Linked DNA regions of Homo sapiens: regions 1 and 2 are each linked to region 3. Evidence: promoter capture Hi-C in human tissues and cell types (Jung and others, 2019). All regions are on one chromosome and are shown on one strand. Each heading gives the region's core, a stretch centred on a gene start or on the middle of the fragment in contact. The rest is flanking DNA. Distances are from core to core; before and after follow the strand shown.

Region 1 (4,251 bases), core at 976-3,475, 270 kb after region 3:
TCATGGCAGCAAACTCAATGCTACCTACGTGTGTAGGTATTTATTTTACCCAAACGTAACTTTTGACATTTTGATTTACATGGAGGAGGCAAGTAACACAACACGACTCTGACATCTTCCCAGCTGTCCATTGATTTAACTCTTGAAGGTTCAGGGCTACTATTTCACATGTAATTTATTCCCCCATCACTGAAATTCTCAATGACCAATGTAATCCGAAAAAGTCTGCTTAGCTTTTCTGAAACTAGAAACCCAAGACAAGTCAACACCAGCTGAAAATCAAACAAAAACAGTCTGTTTTTCATGCTTTCCCATCCTTGTCCCTGAATGGAGATCTTAAAACTGAAACCAAAGCCAGGTGAGGTGGCTCACGCCTGTAATCCCAGCACTTTGGGAGGCCGAGGTGGGCGGATCACCTGAGGTCGGGAGTTCAAGACCATCCTGACCCACATACAGAAACCCCATCTCTACTAAAAATACAAAATTAGTCAGGCTTGGTGGCGCATGCCTATAATCCCAGCTACTTGGGAAGGCTGAGGCAGGAGAATCGCTTGAACCTGGGAGGCGGAGGATGCGGTGAGCGGAGATCACGCCATTGGACTCCAGCCTGGGCAACAAGAGCAAAACTCTGTCTCAAAAAAAAAAAAAAACTGAAACCGAGCTATTGCTGAGTATCTCGGGTAGCCGGTTTAGACTGTGTTTTCTCCAAAATAGGGCCTGTGGATCCAAGTAAGCTCGAGATTCTTCCTGAAGAAGCAGAGAACAGAAGTGTGAGCAAAAACAAGGGGCTGACATGCACATAAGAACCCTTTATAAATTATCTTAGAAGGGGCCAGGCGCGGTGGCTCACGCCTGTAATCCCAACACTTTGGTAGGCCAAAGTGGGCAGATCACCTGAGGTCAGGAGTTCCAGGCCAGCCTGGTCAACATGGTGAAACCCTGTCTCTACTAAAAATACAAAAATTAGCCGGATGTGGTGGCGCATGCCTGTTATCCCAGCTACTCAGGCGGCTGAGGCAGGAAAACTGCTTGAACCCGGGAGGCGGAGGTTGCAGTGAGCCAAGATAGCGCCACTGCACTCCAGCCTGGGCTACAGTGCGAGACTCCGTCTCAAAAAAAAAAAATTATCTTAGAGGACGGTGGTCACCCCTGTAGTCCCAACACCTTGGAAGGCTGAGGCAGGTGGATCGCTTGAGGCCAAGAATTCAACACCTGCTGGGCAATATAGTGACACCCCATCTCTACAAAAAATATATATATATATATCTTATAGATGGGCTGAGAAAAATCCCCAGAGAACTGACATGTTTTTCTCTACTTTCTTCAATGCCAAGCTGAAAGTTTCACTGCTCGGGCAGTGCAGCTCTGGTTTCACGGGGGCTAAATTCCAAAGTGCGGGGCGGGGGTAGAATCTAAGAACCACACCCAAGAGAAAGACCAGTGTTTGGGCAGCAAGGCATCAACCTGGAGGGTACGGACGCCGGAGCACGCGGCTACTCAGGCCGAACCCCGACCCGGACCCGGCACGCGGCCTCGGCGAGGGCGGGCGGGAGTGTCCTCCTCCGGGACAGCCGGACTCCCGCCGACTTCTGGGCGGCGGGGAGGGCTCCAGGCCCGGCTCTCCCGGGCCCCCGCACGCGATGCGCGGCCCCTGCAGCTGCTCCGTGCCCCGAGACGCGCCCGAGGCCTCGGACCTCCAAGCGGCCACCGCGCCGCCAGTCCCGCTGCCCAGGGACACCCCGGCCCCAGCTCCCCGCGCGCCCACCCCCTCGGTCCCACGCGCGTCAGCCACCCGCGCCCCCCGCCGCTTCCGGGTCCCGCCCGCCCGGCCTACCGCGGCCTAGCCCGCCCCGGAGCCCGGCCCTACTCACCCGCGCGCGGTGGTGGCGGGACCCCGGGCCCGGCTCCCGGAGCGGCGCGGCGCGGTCCGGGCCCATGCGCTCAGCGGCAGCGCGGCGGGCGGGACCCGGCGGGGGCGCGGCCCGGGGCGGCCCCCATCTCGGCGGCTGCGGCTCGGCGGCCCGGAGGCGGACGCGGGGCAGGCCGCGGGGGCGCCGCAGGGGCCCAGCCGCCAGCTCCCACCCGCCCGCTCCGCGTGGACGCGGCTCCGGGCCGACTCCGGCCGGCTCTGGCGGCGGCAGCGGCCACGATCGCCTCCCGAGCCAGAGCCCGAGCCAGAGCGCCGAAGCCCAGGCCCGAGCGCCCCCGCCGGCGGCGTCCGGAAGTGCGGGGGCGGGGCCGGGGCGCGGGGACGAGGTGAGAGCGCGGGGCGGGGCCTCAACACGGGGCGGGGCCGGCAGCGCGGGGACGAGGTAAAGGGTGTGGGGCGGGGCTTCAGGCGCGGGGCGGGGCTGAAAGCGCGAGGATAAAGTGAGGAGCGTGGGGCGGGGCCGACAGCGAGGGGACAGGTGAGGAGCGCGGGGCGGGGCCGGGGCGTGGGCGGGGCCGGAAGCGAGAAGACGAGGTGAAGAGCTCGGGGCGGGGCCTCGGGCGTGGGGCGGGGACCAGGGAGTAAGGCGGGGCCCGCCTCGAGCAGAAGAGGTAAAGAGCGTGGGGCGGGGCCTCCGGCGCGGGGCGGGGCCGGAAGCGAGAAGACGAGTTGAGAAACATGGGCCGGGGTCTCTGCATGGCCGGGAGAGGGCGTGGTCAGTGCCTGCCGGGGGCGGGGCGTGCCGGGGGCGCGGTCGCGCCGTCTTCCCGAGGGGCGGTGCGGAAGCGGAGCCCGGGAGGCTTTGGCTTCCCAGAGAGCGGAGTGGGAGAGGCGGCGTTGCAGGTCCTTGGAATGGCCGCGGCCGTGGGGAGCACTGGGCGGACTGCGCGCCCCGAAGGGCGCACGTGGGGCGCAGCCCTTTTCTGCCGCCAGTACATCGGAGGGCAGTCAGGGGGCTGCAGGCCTCGGGGCTCCCTGCCCAGCCGGCCCTGGAGAGGAGGCCCTCGTGGGGACCGCCACGGCCTGCCCGCCGCCGTGAGGGAAGCAGGCTCCCAGGAGTGGGGTGGTCGGCAGGCAGGGATGGCCAGGGCCCTTGGAAGGTGGGGTGGGCTCCACCCTCCTGAGTCCCAAGGCAGCCTGGACTCACAGCGCCAGGGAACACGTTAGGCCCCAATATATGGTGGCTCTCACCCGGACAGGAGCCACAACCTCCAAAGAGCCCACCGGCTAGGACCCTCTGCCTTGATTTCTCCCAGGCACCATCTAGTATCAGAGAAGGGTTCTCCTTCCCTCCGCTGCCCAGGCCAGCCCGAGAGCAAGGCCATTGGAGTGTCCAGACCCCTGCACCCCTTCCCCTGGGCTGTCTCCACAGCGGCCCTGCCAAGGGGTCCAGTCCGATCCTGCCACCCTGGCTGCCCAGATCCGTGTCACTTGCCCTGCAGGCCACAGAGCATGAGGTCACAGCCCCAGGCACCCCACGGCAGAGAGGCACGGGCCCCCAGCAGCAGCCCCAGCACCAGCTCTGGCCAGCCCAACCCTGTCAGAACCAACCCTCTGCTCTCCACCCAGGCCTCAGCCAACCATCAGGCCCTCCCCAAGGAGGAGGATGTGAGTACCAGGATCTGCCGCCTCCCACAACAGCCCAGGGCCCTGTCCTTCCCAGAGCACTATTGGGCCTGGCACCTCCCGGGATGCTCCAGGCAGCCCCCTGGGGTCAGCTATACCCCCGTTTCACAGAGGAGACAGCTGCAGTTCAGGCCACACAGGACCAGCTCGCCTCCTGTTGGGTGAGGGCTCCCCACCTCGTCCGCCCCACACCTGAGACAACAGCCCTCATCTATCTGCCCTCTGCTTTAGGCCTCCCAGGGCTCCCTGCTGCCCACAGCCCTTCAGGGCCCTTCCTAAGGGCGCCTCCCCCACACCTTCCCCTAGATGCGTCTGGCCACTTGCCCGCCTCCGTGCTTCCGTGTCCATCATGTCCATACCTGCCAGCTCCCTCCAGGCACCTCTCACGTCACCCCCATGTCTTTCCCTGGGCTGTGTCACCCTGGATGCCCAGCCTCACCCTTCAGAGCTCCCAGGCAAGCACAGAAGTCCCAGCTCCAGGCTCCCCGAGCTTCCAGCCTACCCCCAACCAGATGCCCACAGGTGGGACTGCATGGGGAACCATGTGTGGAAGCCTCCCAGCCCTCGCCCCTGCCAGCACTCAGCATGGTGTCTGATGCCAGCATCGCTGTGTGGGAAAGGGGGTAGCATGGGACAAGGGCCACTAGGCTGTCCCCAGCCTGCCAAGGGCCCAGGCCCACCTCCCAGGGCCATCA
Region 2 (4,038 bases), core at 446-2,945, 320 kb after region 3:
AGCCTCACATTGCTCCTGTCCTGGCACAGGAATGTCATCCACGCCAGCGACTCCGTGGAGGGGGCCCAGCGGGAGATCCAGCTGTGGTTCCAGAGCAGTGAGCTGGTGAGCTGGGCAGACGGGGGCCAGCACAGCAGCATCCACCCAGCCTGAGGCTCAAGCTGCCCTTACCACCCCATCCCCCACGCAGGACCAACTACCTCCGTCAGCAAGAACCCAAGCCCACATCCAAACCTGCCTGTCCCAAACCACTTACTTCCCTGTTCACCTCTGCCCCACCCCAGCCCAGAGGAGTTTGAGCCACCAACTTCAGTGCCTTTCTGTACCCCAAGCCAGCACAAGATTGGACCAATCCTTTTTGCACCAAAGTGCCGGACAACCTTTGTGGTGGGGGGGGGTCTTCACATTATCATAACCTCTCCTCTAAAGGGGAGGCATTAAAATTCACTGTGCCCAGCACATGGGTGGTACACTAATTATGACTTCCCCCAGCTCTGAGGTAGAAATGACGCCTTTATGCAAGTTGTAAGGAGTTGAACAGTAAAGAGGAAGTTTTGCACACCCAGTTCCATAACGTTGTTGGATGTATGAGCCAGGCAGGGGTCCAGAGACCACCAGCCTGCAATCCGGAGAACCCAAGCTAGGCGCGAGCCGGTGCTGTGATCCCGCCAAAGGAGAAGCTGCCTTCCCGGGGAAGGGGCAGAGAGGGGCCGGCGGGCTGAGGCCAACCAGCGCAGAAAGGGCCTGGCAGCCATTACTGTAGCGCTGGCGGCTCTGTCACGCCCCTGAAGCCGCTGGCCCGCGGGTGTGTTCAGCTCAGGAGCGGCCCTGCGTGTTTTTCCCCCGTGGCCGTCGCGGACCCCCGTCTTCCAACAGTGGTGCGGGCGGGGCGCCCCGTCCTGGGTTCGCGGCATAGCCCCGCCCGGGCCCCCACGCGGAACAGAAGTAACGGACCCTTTTTTTTTTGTTTTTGTTTTTGAAACGGAGTGTCGCTCTGTCGCCCAGGATAGAGTGCAGTGGCGCGATCTCGGCTCACTGCAACCTCCGCCTCCCGGGTTCAAGCGATTCTCCTGCCTCAGCCTCCCGAGTAGATGGAACTACAGGCACCCGCCACAATGCCCGGCTAATTTTTGTATTTTTAGTAAAGAGGGGGTTTCGCCATGTTGTCCAGGATGGTCTCGAACTCCTGACCTCGTGATCCGCCCGCCTCGGCCTCCCAAAGTGTTGGGATTACAGGCGTGAGCCACCGCGCCCGGCCCCGGACCCTTCTTTATTGGCCTCAAAACGGGTCATTTTGGGAAGCGGCGCGGGGCTGGCCGCGCTTCCCTGGGCCCCGGCCCTCCCCATGGTGTTTACGGGGAGGCGAACGGGGAGCCCAGAGGCTGCGAGCCTGGCCTGGACCCAGGAGCCAGGGGTATCCCACAAGTCCTGGAGGCTCTGAACGCGGCGCTGACGCCGAATACCTGTGAAAAAGACTCGGGGAGGAGACCCGCAGACCGCCGAGCTTCTGCCGCGGGAACCGCGCCCCCGGCCCCGCAATGCGCCTGCGCCTCGCGCGCCGACTTCCAGTCCCAGCAGGCCGCGGGCGGGGGCGGGGCCTCCGGGGAGAATTCGGGGGAGGGGCGGGGCCTCCGGGAAGCAATCAGGGCAGGGGCGGGGCGTCCGGGGAGTGGGGCGGGGCTCCCGGTTCCAGGCGAGTTCGCAGCTGCGCGCCGGGTCCTGGAGGCCGAGGCCGCTCCCGCCCGTTGTCCCCGCAGTCCCCGACGGGAGCGCCATGGCCCAGCCGCCGCCCGACGTGGAGGGGGACGACTGTCTCCCCGCGTACCGCCACCTCTTCTGCCCGGACCTGCTGCGGTGAGCGGGGCCTGGGAAGCGAGCGCAGCCTTGGTGCGGGGTCCGGTCCGCGGGCGCCGGCGCCCCCACGTGGTCCCCGAGGGCTCGCGTGTTAGGAAACCTGTCTTGCCTGGCTCCTTTCTTTCTTTTTTCTTTCTTTTTTTTTTTTTGAGACGGAATCTCGCTGTGTCGCCCAGGCTGGAGTGCAGTGGCACGATCTCCGCTCACTGCAAACTCTGCCTCCCGGGTTCAAGCGATTCTCCTGCCTCAGCCCGGCTAATTTTTATTTTTAGTAGAGAGGGGGTGTCACCGTGTTGGTCAGGCTCTTTTCGAACTCCTGACCTCAGGTGATCCACCCGCCTCGGCTTCCCAAAGTGCTGGGATTTACAGGCGTGAGCCACCGCGCCCGGCCCAACCTGGCCTCTTTCTTAACAGAAAATTTTAGGTTGAAATCATTTTTCCGGAAGACCCAGAAGGCCCAGGAATGCCAGGTTTTGCCCAGCAGCTCTTCATTTTCCTGCAAACGCCTTGGTGTTCACAAGAGAAGGCAGCCCGGGCAAAGGTCGATCCTCCCCGGTCACCTGCCCTCACTCGGCTAATGGGCGGATCCTTTTTTTTTTTTCCTTTTCTTTTTTTCAATTGGCAACATTTTCAAGTTTCTATTAAAATTTTGATCTTTTGCCAGGAGCAGTGGCTCACGCCTGTAATCCCAGCTCTTTGGGAGGCCGAAGCGGGTAGATCACCAGAGGTCAGGAGTTCGAGACCAGCCTGGCCAACATGGTGAAACCCCGTCTCTGCTAAAAATACAAAAAATTAGCCGGGTGTGGTGGCGCACACCTGTAATCCCAACTACTTGGGAGGCTGAGGCAGGAGAATCACTTGAACTCGGGAGGTGGAGGTTGCAGTGAGCCGAGATCGCACCATTGCACTGGGCAACAAGAGTGAAACTCCATCTCAAAAAAAGAAAACAAGTTTTAAATTATGTTCTCCAAGGACAGGTATTGACAATTCTCTCTGAGTGTTCTGCAGGAAAAAAAAAAAGTTTTTTTTCGAAACGGAGTCTCATTCTGGGTTGAAGCAATTCTCCTGCCTCAGCCTCCCAATTCTCCTGCTTCAGCCTCAGTGCGCCCAAGTGGGACTATAGGCACACAATACCACGCTGGGCTAATTGTATTTCTAGTAGAGGTGAGTGTCACCATGTTGGTCAGGCTGGTCTGGAACTCCTGACCTCAGATGATCCACCTGCCTCGGCCTCCCAAAGTGCTGGGATGACAGGAGTGAGACGCTGCACCTGGCCCAAAATTAATCTTTAATAATTAAGAATAGGAAAGGCAACTTGGAGATCAGCAAAAGTTTGCCATCCATCTGGTACAGTTTGTGCCAGTCATACCGATCAGTACACATTTAATGCGTACAAGAAAATCTCTAATAAATAAAAAAGCCATATTATCCCGACGTAGCTTGCTGAATCTCAGGTATCATATTTGATATTAGTGCCATGCAGGGCTTAGGAGAGAGGAAATTATAACCTCTATCTTGTTTAAGCCAGGGTATTTTTCTCTCTTGTATCTACTTCTGTCCATTTCTGTCAAAAGACACAGAAATACCCTTTCCCCCACTGCACTTTGCAAGTTTGTGTCAGCACAAGTTCAGGACCAGCCTGAGCAACAAAACGATACCCCTCTCTAGAAAAACTAGATGAAAAATTAGCTGGGCACTCTGGCATGCACCTGTAGTCCCAGCTACTGGGGAGGCTGAAGCAGGAGGATCCTTCTAGCCCAAGAGGTCAAGGCGGCAGTGAGCCGTGATGGTGCCACTGCACTCCAACCTGGATGACGTAGCAAGAACCTGTCTCAAAATAAATAAATAGGCCCGGTGTGGTGGCTCATGCCTGTAATCCCAGCACTTTGGGAGGCCGAGGTGGGTGGATCACAAGGTCAGGAGATCGAGACCATCCTGGCTAACACGGTGAAACCTCATCTCTACTAAAAATACAAAAAATTAGCTGGGCGTGGTGGCAGGTGCCTGTAGTCCCAGCTACTCTGGAGGCTGAGGCAGGAGAATGGTGTGAACCTGGGAGGAGGAGTTTGCAGTGAGCCTAGATCATGCCACTGCACTCCAGCCTGGGCGACAGAGCGAGACTCCATCTCAAAAAAAATAAAAAATAAATAAATAAATTAAATAAAATACTATAATTTTATGAAT
Region 3 (4,507 bases), core at 48-2,547:
CTGGGGCCCATGGGGGTGGGACGGCTGGTCAGAGGAGGAGAGGCAGTTGGAGACCAGGTCCTGCCCTGTTAGCCTTTCTGTAGGACCAGGTGTCACACTCATCTGAGGGCTCCAGACACATGGCCTGTGCGTCTGTCCTGCCCAGCGTCTCCCACCTGACGCGGCCAGGTGCCCAGTTGCTCTTCAAGGCCTTTTCAGGTGCTCCTTTCCAGGACCAGGGTCACAGAAGTCAAAGCTCAGGAAAAGCCCCTCGAGGGTTTTTGTGCGGCAGAGGTGGGTTGTGGGGTGGGATTGTGCCTGCCACAGTGGAGGGGCCCTGCAGACCCAGATAAACCTTCAAGTGGCCAGAAGCGGGGGATGGCTCTGCTGGGTGCTGGGGCTGCCATGGGCCGTGGGAGCCAGCAGTGTGCCCAGCTCCCTCAGGGCCCGTCCCCTAGGCCCTTCCGTCCACTGGGCCAAGCACCGTCCCTGCCCCTCCCTAGGGGCATGGATCTGACTTGAGAGGTTGTGAGAGCTTACAGGCGCTGGGCCGTCGGGGAGGCCTCAGAAGCGTAGGACGGCTGCGCACTGCCGGGCCGTGTTCAGCCCTGGTCTGGCCTCGGCCTCTAGAGGAGGCTGCCTGCGCTCCAGCAGGCCCAACCCAGAACGTGGGCGAGCTCCCTTCAGCATCCCTGGGCGGAAAGAGGGATGGGGGCTCTGCTGCAGAGGCAGAATCCGCGCCGCTCCCTCCTTCCTTCCCCCGACCAGCCTGTGACAACCCCGGCCAGGGGCGGGGGCCTCCGCACAAGCCTGGCGTCCACTTCCTGGATAAGGACTCCCCGGCCCACTCCGGACCAGGGCTGGGGCGGCCTCCCAGGCGCTCACTCCGCTGGCACCCCACCGGAAAACACGTCTGCGGCCCGCCCCCTCCCCCAAAGCACGACCACTCCGCCCGGGCCCCTCGAGGATCCACTCAGGTTCACGACGGGCCCGTCCTCTCGGTGGTCTGACCACCGGCTGGTGGAGTGGGCTCTGGGGCCGCCAGGCGACCAGGGCGCAGGCGGGGGCGGACAGCTCATTGGGAGGGGCGCCGGGGCACAGTGCGGGGCTCGCCCCACCCCCAGGTGCCCCTTCCCCGCTCTCGCCTCGCAGGCACCGCATCGGGCCCGGGAATCGGTCCGGACCTGGCGGTGGGCGCTGGGAAGAGGATCCACCTCCACGTGGCCCGCCCCGCCCCGGGGGCGCAGCCAGTTCCCGGCGCTCACTGCCCCCCTTCTCCCGGCTTCCGTCCCCTTCTGCGCAGGCGCCGCTCCGCCCCGGTCCTAGGGGTGCTTCCGTGGTCGGCGGCTGCTGGGCTCCGCGCCGGGGTCCGAGTCCCACGAAGCCCCGGCCCGAGCCGCCGGATGCCCGCGCGCAGCGGGGCCCAGGTGAGCGCGCGCCTCGGCCGCCCCGCGGAACAGACGCGCCCACCCCCAGGCGCAGCAGCGAGCGCGGCCGCGGGAGCGGGAGTGCCGGGGACGGGCGTAGCGCCCACCGCCCCGAGGGTTCGGGGCAGAGCCAGAGCATAGGCCAAGGGCCAAGCTCGGGCCGAGAGCAGTGGCCGCAGCGCCCGGGGGCTGAACCCACGGCGCGCTGGCAGCGCGGGCCGAGCTGCGGAGACGGTCACGTCAGCGTCCGTTCCAGGCCGACTGGCAGTCTCCGTTCTACATTAACGTCAGCACTCCCGTTAAAAATAATGCATCTCTCCCATGCCAGGAGGACTTAGGTGCTGCTAAAGACCAGCCCTCCGGGTGCTGCCAGGCCGGCGCTCACCCGCCACCTTCATCTTCCCTTCTCCTTTGCCCCAGGACAGCCGAGGATGTGTGGTTAGGTTCCCCCTACCCATGGGGAGGCCAGAGGTGGGAGGCTGGCGGCCTGCTCGGTCTCAGCAGACCCTCCTAGTCCCTCAGGAGACCTTGCCTTTGCCCCACTTGCTCGTTATCCAGCCTGGGCCATGAAGCAGAGGACAGTTAGGGACCCTGAGCACGCGGTGGTCACCCCGGTGCTCACCCCTCCCTGTGTGTCCGACCTTGGCCCTGCTAAGATCCTGTGTTTTGAATTCTGGCAAGGGTTGGATGAAAGGGCAGGGCTCCAGAAACCAGCTCAGACGTTTGCTTGGGACCTGCATGATGAGTGGGAATCGGAGGGCACCAGCCCTGCTGTCCCAGGCTCAGGCCCCCATCTGCTCCCCAGGTCATGCAGCCTGGGCCCCCATGCCGTGCAGCTCGCACATATGTGGGGCAGAGCAGCCACCCTGCCCCCAGCAGCAGCCGTCCATCGTCAGACGTGATCATTTCCTGAGGCCTCGAGTGTGTCAGGGTGTTTGTGCCTCATAACAACCCACAGGATGGTCACCCCCGCTTTGCAGATGAAGAAACCAAAGCAGGTGGTCAGATCCAGTCCTTGCACTTCCTGAGCCTGACCTTACCACACAGCTGTCTCCTATTCGGATGCTTATTTATTTTTTTTCCCATTACAGTTTTGCCGACGGATGGGGCAAAAGAAGCAGCGACCAGCTAGAGCAGGGCAGCCACACAGCTCGTCCGACGCAGCCCAGGCACCTGCAGAGCAGCCACACAGCTCGTCCGATGCAGCCCAGGCACCTTGCCCCAGGGAGCGCTGCTTGGGACCGCCCACCACTCCGGGCCCATACCGCAGCATCTATTTCTCAAGCCCAAAGGGCCACCTTACCCGACTGGGGTTGGAGTTCTTCGACCAGCCGGCAGTCCCCCTGGCCCGGGCATTTCTGGGACAGGTAATGTGAACATAGCAGCGAGGGCCCTCCTGAAGTGCCTGTCACTGCAGTTGTCCCTGAACCCCTGTCCGCTGCCTGCTGGATTGGCCCTCAGTTAGTCCTCCTTGTCCTCATGCATTTAGCGGCTTTGCTCACACTGGTCCCTGCTTAGCTTCATCTCAGTTGCCTGAGGTCATCTGGGAAGAATGTAGAGATTGTCAGTGCTGCTTGCCCAGGGTGGAGCAGGGGTGCCACTGTCTGCCCCCGGCTCTGGGCATCTAGGGCAGGAGCACTTGCACCGTTAGCCTTCCTCACCGGCAATCCACCTCAGTTTTTCCACACGTGGGAACTGTGGCTGTGGCCAGTGTCGGGCTGCCCCTTCCCGCTGTAGTGGCTCACAGTGCAGTGCTGGCTTCCCAGGGCCCCTGCAGCTTAATGTAGGTCAAGGATCTGGGCTCTGCCAATCAGACTTGGAGTAAGAAGCAGGGACTGCCCAGGTCCCATCCTGGTGGGGCCTACGGTGCAGCCTGTCCCCACGAGCAGATGCTCACACAGCCGTGGCATCTTGGCTGGATCTGTTGGGAGCGAGGTGGTGGCGGTGGTCCTCGATGCCAAAGCCCCAGGCCTGCCTTTCTGGTTCTCCAGAGGCTCCAAGGCCTTCCCTTTGTCCTTTAATGAGCCTACTTTTAGGTTATAATCACCAAGAAGAACCAGAAGAGAAATACCAGTGCCAGGAGTTGGGTGCTAAAGGAGCAGACCCTAGAATGTGGGCTCGACCTCATGGAGAACAGAGAACATTCTGTCCCCATGCGGATCCTTCTAAAAGCACCTTAAGTAATGGGCATTTGTGGCCAGGTGTGGTGGCTCATGCCGGTAATCCCAGCACTTTGGGAGGCGGAGGTGGGTGGATCACGAGGTCAGGAGTTTGAGACCAGCCTGACCAACATGGTGAAACCCCATCTCTACTAAAAATACAAAAATTAGCTGGGTGTGATGACGGGCGCCTCTAATCTCAGCTACTTGGGAGGCTGAGGCAGGAGAATCACTTGAACCCGGGAGGCAGAGGTTGCAGAGAGCTGAGATCACGCCATTGCACTCCGGCCTGGGCGACAGGGCGAGACTCCGTCTCAAAAATAAAAAAAAAATACAATGGGCATTTGTGATACAACAAAACAGCACGTGTGGCAGGTGCGTCGTAGGAACAGGGCAAGGGCGCAGCATGGCATCAGGGACCACAATACGTTTGTCTCTATTCAGCATCCTTGTCAGGCCACAGTCATGCCCACTTGAGCCCATTGGTGGACAAGATGATGTCCAGCAGAGAAGAGGGTGTCTCACCCTGTGTCCCTTGGATCAGGGACAGCCCTCTGCCCTCTCCATAACCTCCTAGTGGATGCCCTTGCAGACCCCTCAGCCAGGCTTGGGTCATGCACTCATCCCTAAAAGGGTCACTGCAGTGAGTTGCCATGAAATCCCAGGCCACTCTCTGGGCTGAGGAGGGTGTGGTCTCCCCCAGGAGGCTCTGCCAACAAGGAAGAGGGGTGTGTGTTGGCCATGGGGGTGGGGAGGGGTGAGAGGCCCCAGTATCTGCCACTGGTGGAAATGGTATCAGTGAAATCCTGATCAGAAATTTGGGATGGAAAAGGAAACAATGAGAAAAGGGCTGTGGGAACCTCCTCTCCAGAGTGGTAGTTGGGCCCCCCCAGTGTGCCCCCATGGAGGCACAGGAGTGTGCAGAGTGAAGCCCCTGGAGGG

What was found. The method cuts DNA at HindIII sites, captures the fragments that hold promoters and counts their contacts. A contact is called where the count stands out against the background at its distance.
Region 1: the fragment with the promoter of AXIN1 here is called in contact with the fragment with the promoter of MPG in region 3 in 6 of the 25 tissues and cell types used here (H1 embryonic stem cells, bladder, dorsolateral prefrontal cortex and 3 more).
Region 2: a contact is called between the fragment with the promoter of DECR2 here and the fragment with the promoter of MPG in region 3, in 1 of the 25 tissues and cell types used here (spleen).

Annotation. Positions count from the first base shown.
Region 1 is chr16:350,498-354,748 of GRCh38, forward strand. It overlaps AXIN1 (axin 1), which reads right to left and starts at 2,226. Exons shown (of 11, transcript NM_003502.4): 1 at 1,872-2,226. RefSeq lists silencers at 1,445-1,504, 1,515-1,584, 1,605-1,654, 1,935-2,014, 2,115-2,594 and 1 more. The HindIII fragment of the contact is 14,202 bases long and covers 1-4,251 here.
Region 2 is chr16:400,190-404,227 of GRCh38, forward strand. DECR2 (2,4-dienoyl-CoA reductase 2) reads left to right here and starts at 1,696. Exons shown (of 9, transcript NM_020664.4): 1 at 1,696-1,854. The coding sequence starts at 1,775. It overlaps NME4 (NME/NM23 nucleoside diphosphate kinase 4), which reads left to right. Exons shown (of 5, transcript NM_005009.3): 5 at 30-565. The coding sequence ends at 153. RefSeq lists enhancers at 519-828, 676-1,261. The HindIII fragment of the contact is 11,138 bases long and covers 463-4,038 here.
Region 3 is chr16:76,928-81,434 of GRCh38, forward strand. MPG (N-methylpurine DNA glycosylase) reads left to right here and starts at 1,298. Exons shown (of 4, transcript NM_001015052.3): 1 at 1,298-1,406; 2 at 2,498-2,773. The coding sequence starts at 1,383. RefSeq lists a silencer at 879-1,568 and an enhancer at 1,083-1,377. The HindIII fragment of the contact is 15,400 bases long and covers 1-4,507 here.